Regions from separate parts of the Homo sapiens genome. Here regions 1 and 3 are each linked to region 2. Evidence: promoter capture Hi-C in human tissues and cell types (Jung and others, 2019). All regions are on one chromosome and are shown on one strand. Each heading gives the region's core, a stretch centred on a gene start or on the middle of the fragment in contact. The rest is flanking DNA. Distances are from core to core; before and after follow the strand shown. Region 1 overlaps PCNT (pericentrin). Region 2 holds the start of S100B (S100 calcium binding protein B). Region 3 overlaps PCNT (pericentrin).

Region 1 (2,898 bases), core at 2-2,501, 220 kb after region 2:
TGGCAACTGTGTCCAGTCTGGGGCTCCCAGGCCATCTACAGGCTGAGACCCAGAGTTACCTCTGAACTCAAAACTTAGCAAAAAAGAATTTTTATTTTCATTTTTGAGATAGGGTCTTGCTCTGCACCCAGGCTGGAGTGCAGTGGTGCAACCACAACTCACGGCAGCCTCAGCCTCCCAGGATCAAGCAATCCTCCTGCCTCAGCCTCCTGAGGAGCTGGGACCGCAGACGCATGCCACCACGCCTGGCTAACTTAAAATGAGGTCTCGCTATGTTGCCCAGGCTGGCTGCTGGAGTCCAGGGCCATCTCCATGAGGCCGTCCACGGCCAGGCTGAGGCTCTGGAAGACCCTCCGGATGGGTTGCTCACACTCCCGTACACTTTCTGGGCTCATGAGAAAGCTTTCACACATGTGGCTGCTAATTTCAGCCACGGAAGACATCTCTGCACATTCAGACAAAGTTCTGTCCAACTCCGGGAGGGCCACATCAGACCACATCTCCTCCAGCGCCAGAGCTACAAGATGAGCTCGTGGGCTGAAGTAGGCTGAAGTGAACCTCCTACCTTAGCCTCCCAAAGTGCTGGGACTGCAGGAGTGAGCCGCTGTGCCTGGCTGAAAAAAAGATCTTTGATTGCTTTCCGTGTATTCCTACTTAATGTCTTTTTTAATTGTCTAAAATGTTCTAAAACGGTTACAAAAAATTTCCTTTCTTAGTGATAATCTCTAAATATGAAAACACTCCACATGGAATTGCAACAGTGCATGAAGTAAAGAAAATGGGCCTGTTTATTATCCAAATTAAACAAACAGATTCTCTCATTCGTAGCAAGCCCACTTCCTCAAAGATCTGGTTCAGAAAAGCCTCCTCCTTGGGGAGAAACCCGTGCGAGCGTCGTTGGCACCGGCATCCACCAGGCTCGTGTGGCATCATCAGCTACTCAGTTGTTCACATCTCCACAGGACCCCGGGAGCCTGGGCCTCACCTGCCTGCTGGAGTCCAGGGCCATCTCCATGAGGCCGTCCACGGCCAGGCTGAGGCTCTGGAAGACCCTCCGGATGGGCTGCTCACACTCCCGCACACTTTCTGGGCTCATGAGAAAGCTTTCACGCATGTGGCTGCTAATTTCAGCCACGGAAGACATCTCTGCACATTCAGACAAAGTTCTGTCCAACTCCGGGAGGGCCACATCAGACCATGTCTCCTCCAGCGCCGGAGCTACAAGATGAGCAGATGCCGGCACACGCGGCTCAGTGAGCAAGCCGGCCGCGGCCATGGCAGCCAAGACGACAAGGAAGCCACAGAACTCAGAACGTCGCCCCAGCCGAGATGAGTCAGCGCCACGTCCACGGGAGCTGACAAATTTAGCCCAAACCCCGGTCTCGGCCTTCTGTAAGTGCGGAAACTAGCAGGAAACCAGGACGGCAGTGCTCCCAAGGGCATCGCCCAATACGGAGGCTCCTCTCAGAGAGCTCCAGGACCACAGAGGGGCTGCAAGCACAGGGCTGGGCAGCTGGTCCCGGCACACTCACCTGTCGACAGGGCCAGGCCTGCGCCCGCGTCATCCAGGCAGAGCCCCACGCGCTCCCCGATCCGGCTCCTCAGGGTGACGGCTGCCCTCAGCGTCTCTCCAAACAAACCCAGCAGCCTGCGCAGGGCGTCCTGGAGGGCCCCTCTGAGACAGGAGACACCCATCATCAGGCAAGCTGGTCACGGCATAAGAACCCCCACCCTGGATGCTGCTGAGGGGCCGCCCACCAGTTTGCACACCTCGGCCCACGGCTGCCTGTCCCCACGGGGCCGGAAGACATGATCCTCATGCCCATGTGAGCACAGGAAGCTGAGGCCACAGACAAGACAACCACGTGGAGCCCACTCAGGGACACGGGCTTTCCTAGGTGAGGTCTTCCTGATGCCATTTCTGATGTGTAAAAGGCATCACATTAGGAACACGGCAAACCCGTCCCGCAGGTGTGCGATGTGGCCGCACAGCGTCAATCACCCGGGAGCAGCACACAGGCTCCGCCCCTCCCCTGGAGCACAGGGTGCACCAGCCAGCCATTTCACAAGATGTCTGTCCAACACCAAGTCACGCCTCAGCCACACATTCACAGGAGTTGTGTGGCAGGAAGAGGATGGTGTCTCCCAGCCTCTCGCTAGGCCTCGTGGACGTGCGGTCTGGGATGCTTCTGTCTTTTTTTTTTTTTGAGATGGAGTCTCGCTCTGTCGCCCAGGCTGGAGTGCAGTGGCACGATCTTGGCTCACTGCAAGCTCCACCTCCCGGGTTCACGCCTTTCTCCTGCCTCAGCCTCCCGAGTAGCTGGGACTACAGGCGTCTGTCACCACGCCCGGCTAATTTTTTGTATTTTTAGTAGAGATGGGGTTTCACCATGTTAGCCAGGATGGTCTCGATCTCCTGACCTCATGATCCACCCGCCTCAGCCTCCCAAAGTGCTGGGATTACAAGCGTGAGCCACTGCGCCCGGCTGGGATGCTTCTGTTTTTACACACAGGGGCTCCCGAGGCCACAGGCCCCTCCACATCTCGCTCCCTGCACTATGATTTAGGAGCTGTGACGCCGCTGAGGACAGGCACGTTGACCCAGTGACTACACAGCCAGCCCTCCCTCTACTCTGCTCACAGCTCTGTCCCCAGAGAGCCCAACCCTGAGGAGCAGACGATGAGGACTCATTCGTGGGGACCGTGAGGTGACAACGGGAGGCAGTGTCGTGCAGGCCCCGCGAAACCGAAGATTCTGGGCAAATAACAGGGAGGGGGAGTCCTGAGGAGGGGCTTGACGGAGAGAATGCCACCTGCTCCCCAGCACACTTCCACCCCCCAAAATGCCCAACTCCTGCAGGCATCAGGGCGTCTGCAGCCACCCCACCTCAAGACAGG
Region 2 (2,893 bases), core at 235-2,734:
ACGCAGTGCCCTAAGCACAGGTGTACGGTCATTGCATGAGTGGATTTCAAACTATTTTTAACCCCTGCAGGAGCAGGCTAGAGCGTTTTCTATGGACACTGAAGGGTTAATCCAGAGCTCAGGCTGCCACTCTGGGGAAGTGGTCAGCACTTACAGGAATGGTCCCTCCAACATCTGAGCGAGGAAGGGGCACAGAGCACAGTTGTGCCTTCCTTGGGCCTGGGCAAGCTCTGTGCTTCACAGAGCAAGCCTGTGTCAGATCCTTCAGCAGAGACCACAGCCAGGGGTGGTGAAGCCGATGAGGAAGTGAGGGCCAACCACACTGCTCAGGCTGTTCCTCACAGGAGGCTGGGGCAGGCTGAGCCACGCAAGACCACAGCTCTCAGCCCTGTGCTATTTCCAGGGCACACTTACAGATCCTGAATGGTAGAGAACGTCCTGGATAAAACAATGACAGCAAGACAGCCATGTACACAGATATCTTGTGGGAAACCCTTTCACGGCCACTTTGAAACTGGGTTGGGAGAAGGACGTGATGCTGGGTCAGGCATCCATTGGGGACCATGGACATTTTTGGAGAGTTTGGGCCAATGTTCTTGTGTAATTTGTCAGAAGGAACACCTACTTCTTCATTCTTGTGAAGAAGAACCCATAAACTGGCCCCCGTGTTCAGAGGCTCCAGTCGAGCGAGTTGAGGGGACAGCTGGACTTCTCCTTCCTCAGGCTGGCTGGAGGCTTCAGCAAGGGGGCACACCGTCCACACGCCTCTGTAAAACAGCGTTCGAACGGGACATCTCTAAGGCATCGTCCAACTCTGAGAGTCTGTGACCTTCCACCCTGGGGTGGAGGGAAAGGCCTTGGGATACAGTCCACACATCACGTTTTCCCCTAAAAGTACCACCCGTTTTAGTCCCTGCAGACACTGGCCTCAGCAGCTTCTCTGAGGCAGCCCCGTTGAGCCCAGGGCTGACCACAGACAAGCACTACTGTCCACAGAACTTCACGCCCAGTGGGGCCAGACTTGGAGGATGGCAGAGGAGAGAAGCTCCAGGGGCCTCTCCATTAGAAACCAACTTGCAGGCCACTTAATCTCCTATGCTCAGCCTGTACTTGGAAGCTGCTTGTTCTTGGCTGCACATTTGCTTTGTTTGAATCAATTAATCCAAGTCTCTCTCCTCTCCCCACCCCCAACCTTGCCTTTAGGGTGACATCAATATTCATGTAATAAAGAAATCGCACAAAAAGCTGACTCCCCACTTCCTGCCCTACAGGCCCTTTTTTCTTCCTCAGCCCATGTGCAATCCTGGCTCCCAGCAAGTCCCCGGGGCTGCTTGGTCAATGCAGCCCTGTGTGCAGGCCTGGCAGCCCTGCCACCCCCGCCTTCGGCTCCCATTGGCTGCCACGGCCTGCAGTGGGCTGCACCAGGGTTCATCCATCCTCCCTGGGCAGAGGGAATAAGAGGCTGCCTCTGCCCACCAGTCCTGCCGCCCAGGACCCGCAGCAGAGACGACGCCTGCAGCAAGGAGACCAGGAAGGGGTGAGACAAGGAAGAGGTGAGAAAGAGCCAGGCCAAGAGGACGCTCAGGAAGAAATGGTTCTTTTCTTTTGGGTGGAACGGAATGGAGGGGTAGAAACTAAGTGGTAGCTTAAAAAGCCCCTTTAGGACAATTGGCAGCATTTCAGAAGTGTCAATAGGATGATGTGTTTTAATCTCCACATTACTGCTGCTTTGTGGACACCTGACTGCATCAGCCCTAGACAGCTAGAGGTGTGTTTTGCCATAAATCAGAGAAACGTCAGGTTTCATGGCCCAGAAGTGATTGTTGACATTTTCCCAGCGGTACTACAAATACTGCCTCTTCTGTAACTATTTGAAGAGTAAAGATTTTGCTTCCCACTGGGGCTAAAAATGATGGAGAACCTAATGCTAGTTTAGTCCTATATCATAAATAAATGCTTCCCTTTTCTCCTTATATTTCTTCCACCGCCCTGGGTAAGTAACTCTTCAGTTTTCCAGTTTCCCTCAGTTTGAAGTGCCAGGGTCCCCACAGCCCCAGGACGCCACTCAGAAATTACGTAACAATTACAAATAAATTGGGTCAAAGAAATCGGGGTTTTGGTGGGTTTTAACTTTCCTCAGTCTCACAGTTTCTCAGGGAGGTCGAACCCCTTCTTTAGAGGGATCCTCACACGCTAGGTAACTTGTCTTTCTAAGGAGTTAAAGTTCAAAAGTTCTCTTGTTCTCAATATTAAAAGATTAATGTAGGACATTCAAAGAATGTGAGAAAGAAACGGACATTTATTTCCATTTCTCTTAAAAGATAAACTATAAACCATCAACTATTTCTTAGGTCAAAGGGAAAAATTTAACAAGAATTTAATTGATTTGTAGTGTGGTTATGAAGAAAACCATATTTTCTAGTGGTTTCTATTAGTGTTCTAATATATGGGATACATGTTTTATGCCTTTCCTTTGTAATAATCCCATTAGTCACAATTCATAGAAAAACAATTTAACCTCCTTTTCCCCAAATCATCATGGACTTTGAGGAGCATCAGAATGATGTAAAAGTGTCTTGTTTTGTTTAAAAAAATACACACACATACAAACATGCATATATCAATAATTGAAAACTTGAGTGCAAAGAATAAGAAAGCATGAAATGTTAAAGATTTTAATCCATCTTAATTGTTCTATTTGTGAATTATCAAATTTTTAGGGACTCAAGAGCAAAATAAAGTACACTGATTATTAATAGAATGACTTTAGCAAAGATCTGGCCAGTATAAAAAAATCTTCAATCCTGTTTCCTTCGGAGGATCAGAAATAAATAAAATAATTCCAAATTATTTTTAAGATGTAAGTTATATATTCAACATGGGAATGATTTTT
Region 3 (2,878 bases), core at 118-2,617, 200 kb after region 2:
ACATCACTACCAGGTATGGTTTATCCTAGAACCGCAAGGTTAGTTTAATCTCCAAGAAATAAATCACTCAATAAAGTTAACCTTATTAGTAGAATAAAAGAGAAAAATATCATCACTATTTCAATAGATCCAGAAAAAGCAAACTAGAAATATAACAGAACTTCCTTGATCTGATAAAAAGGCACCTGTGAAAAACCTAAAGCTAATATACTTAATGGCAAAACACTGACCACTTCCCTGTAAGACAAGGAGCTGGGCAAAGATGACTGCCCTAGCCAGTTTTAACTTTGTACTGGGAGTGCTAGACATTGTAATAAAAGAAGGAAATAACAAAAATTGGAAAGAAATAAAACTGTCTTTATCTGAAGATGATGTTATCTTATACATAAAAAGCCTTCAGGAATCCACAAAACGCTACTAATATACATAAATTGTGCAAGGTAACAGCAAGGTTAACATACAAAAGGTGTATGTGTATTCACGGTAAACAACTAGATAATTATTTTAAATCTCACTTACAATAGTGCAAAAAACCTAAAATATTTAAGGATAAATTTAACAAAAGACGTGAGACCTCTTTATTAAAACCTGTAGAATAAGGGAGAAGTAAATGGTAAAATTAAAGAAACATCACTAACCCCAGAGTTAGAATAAGCCACACAGGGAGGGAGGGCCCACATTGAGGATGAGGTGTTAGGATGGCTGGAGCCCCGGAGGACGGCAGTACAGAACAAGTGACAACAACCACGACCACGCCAGGGAGACGGGAGCTCCGTTTCCCCACAAGTGTAAAAGACGCTTCTAGAAGACAAACATCTTCACTGACATAAAATAGGGTAGAATACAGCAAATGTGGTTTCCTTGAAATAACTGGAAACCTAACAAGAGTCAAACCTTTAAATGGAATTTTACTTTTCTTTATTATATAAAGCAAAATAGCATCCGCATCTTTACAAAAAATTAGGAGAATTACAGAAAATGAAGGATGTACGAATTTGCACATATCTGTAAGAAAAATCCCACAAGAAAATATTGGGGATTGTCCTTAAAAAGCTTTCAATTCTTAATGGAACAAAAATACTGTCCTTAACATGTAAACTATTTTTTATATATTTTTCATTATATAAGATTATAGTTAGAGGTCAAGTTCTAGAGCACTATAGACAAATAATACAACTTCTTCTGAAAAGTAATCAATGGTTTTTAAAGGCATTCTTTTTTTTTTGAGACGAGTCTTGCTCTGTCGCCCAGGCTGCAGTGCAGTGGCGCAATCTCGGCTCACTGCCAACCTCCACCTTCTGGGTTCAAGTGATTCTTCTGCCTCAGCCTCCCAAGTAACCATTAGAGGCACCGGCCACCAGGCCCAGCTAACTTTTGTGTTTTTAGTAGAGACGGGGTTTCACCATGTTGGCCAGGCTGGTCTCGAACTCCTGAGCTCAAGTGATCTGCCCGCCTGGGCCTCCCAAAGTGCTGGGATTACAGGCGTGAGCCACCGCTCCTGGCCATAAAAGGCATTCTTCAATGTAACCCAAAAGGCTATTTTTAAATTTTTGCCAAATATACAAGATACAATCAGATACTAAGACAGATAACATCTCAGTAGCCTCTGTCAAAGGGAAATTAAAAGTGACAAACTGGAGACAAACTTCTCCTTACTTCTATGGTCCCCTCCAAAATTATTTTTTTTTAGGCAGGGTCCTGTTCTGTCATTACAGCTGGATTACAGTGGCATGATCACAGCTCACTGTGGCCTTGGCCTCCCAGGCTCAAGTGATCTTCCTATCTCATCCTTCAGAGTAGCTGGTACTATAGGTGTATGCCTGGCTAAATTTTTTAAAAAAATTTGTAGAGATGGGTCTCATTACGTTGTCCAGGCTGATCTCGAATTCCTGGGCTCAAACGATCCTCCCACCTCAGGTTCCCAAACTCCTGGGATTACAGGTGTGAGAGCCACTGTGCCCGGCCATAAAGTTAATTTTGTTTTTGAGACAGGGTCTTGCTTTGTTGCCCAGGCTGGAGTGCAGTGGCACAATCACAGCTCACTGCATCCTCCATCTCCTGGGTTCAAGTGATTCTCCTGCCTCAGTCTCCGGAGTGGTGTGTCACCATGCCTGGCTAATTTTTGTATTTTTAGTAGAGATGGGGTTTTCCCATGTTGTTTAGGCTGGTCTCGAACTCCTGAGCTCAAGTAACCCACCCTCCTCAGTCTCCCAAAGTGCTGAGAATACAGGCGTTTGAGCCACCGTGCCCAACTGATAAAATTAATTTTGAAAAGTATTATAAATATTGTATGAGGAAACAGAAGACTGTCATCCTGGAAAGCCAAGGCCCCAGTCAATCACACCCAGAAACTATGAGGACTTCGTACAGGAGACGCAGGCGTAGCCAGAAGCGTGAGAAGAGCCCCTTCTCCCCCAGCACCAGGGAGTGGCGTACCTCGCCGAGGTAAACCTGCGGTGCCTAGAGCTGCTCGTTCACACGCACTATCTCCTCTTCTTTGTTGGGCAGAAATGCCGGTGGAAATGGTAATAACAACAACCATATCAAAACAGAGCCGACAGAACCTTAATAGGGAAATATTCCACTGACCCTACAGATATGAAATGTCCTAATTAAATAAGCCTACAGTTTTAAATTGGAAAAATGGAAAATCAATTTGAAAATTTTTTTTGTTGTTATTGTTGTTGTTTTTTGAGACTCTCCCACGCTGTGTTCACTCAGGGAGCATTCCCACGCTGTGTTCATTCACCGAGCACGCGCCACGTGGGCACCACACACACACAATTCTCCCACGCTATGTTCATTCACCGAGCACGCGCCGCGTGGGCACCACACACACAATTCTCCCACGCTGTGTTCATTCACCGAGCACGCGCCA

What was found. Contacts are between HindIII fragments. The study calls those that stand out against the background at their distance.
Region 1: a fragment that was not itself captured here is called in contact with the fragment with the promoter of S100B in region 2 in 2 of the 25 tissues and cell types used here (dorsolateral prefrontal cortex and mesenchymal stem cells).
Region 3: a fragment that was not itself captured here is called in contact with the fragment with the promoter of S100B in region 2 in 2 of the 25 tissues and cell types used here (dorsolateral prefrontal cortex and lymphoblastoid cells).

The regions. Positions count from the first base shown.
Region 1 is chr21:46,387,519-46,390,416 of GRCh38, reverse strand. PCNT (pericentrin) reads right to left here. Exons shown (of 47, transcript NM_006031.6): 18 at 1,533-1,675; 19 at 986-1,218. Among named protein-coding and RNA genes, the nearest start is that of PCNT, 65 kb to the right of the region's middle. The HindIII fragment of the contact is 3,209 bases long and covers 1-2,855 here.
Region 2 is chr21:46,603,673-46,606,565 of GRCh38, reverse strand. S100B (S100 calcium binding protein B) reads left to right here and starts at 1,484. Exons shown (of 3, transcript NM_006272.3): 1 at 1,484-1,553. RefSeq lists an enhancer at 1-446. The HindIII fragment of the contact is 5,448 bases long and covers 1-2,893 here.
Region 3 is chr21:46,404,042-46,406,919 of GRCh38, reverse strand. All of the region lies in intron 27 of PCNT (pericentrin), which reads right to left. Among named protein-coding and RNA genes, the nearest start is that of DIP2A, 53 kb to the left of the region's middle. RefSeq lists an enhancer at 2,454-2,878. The HindIII fragment of the contact is 7,053 bases long and covers 1-2,878 here.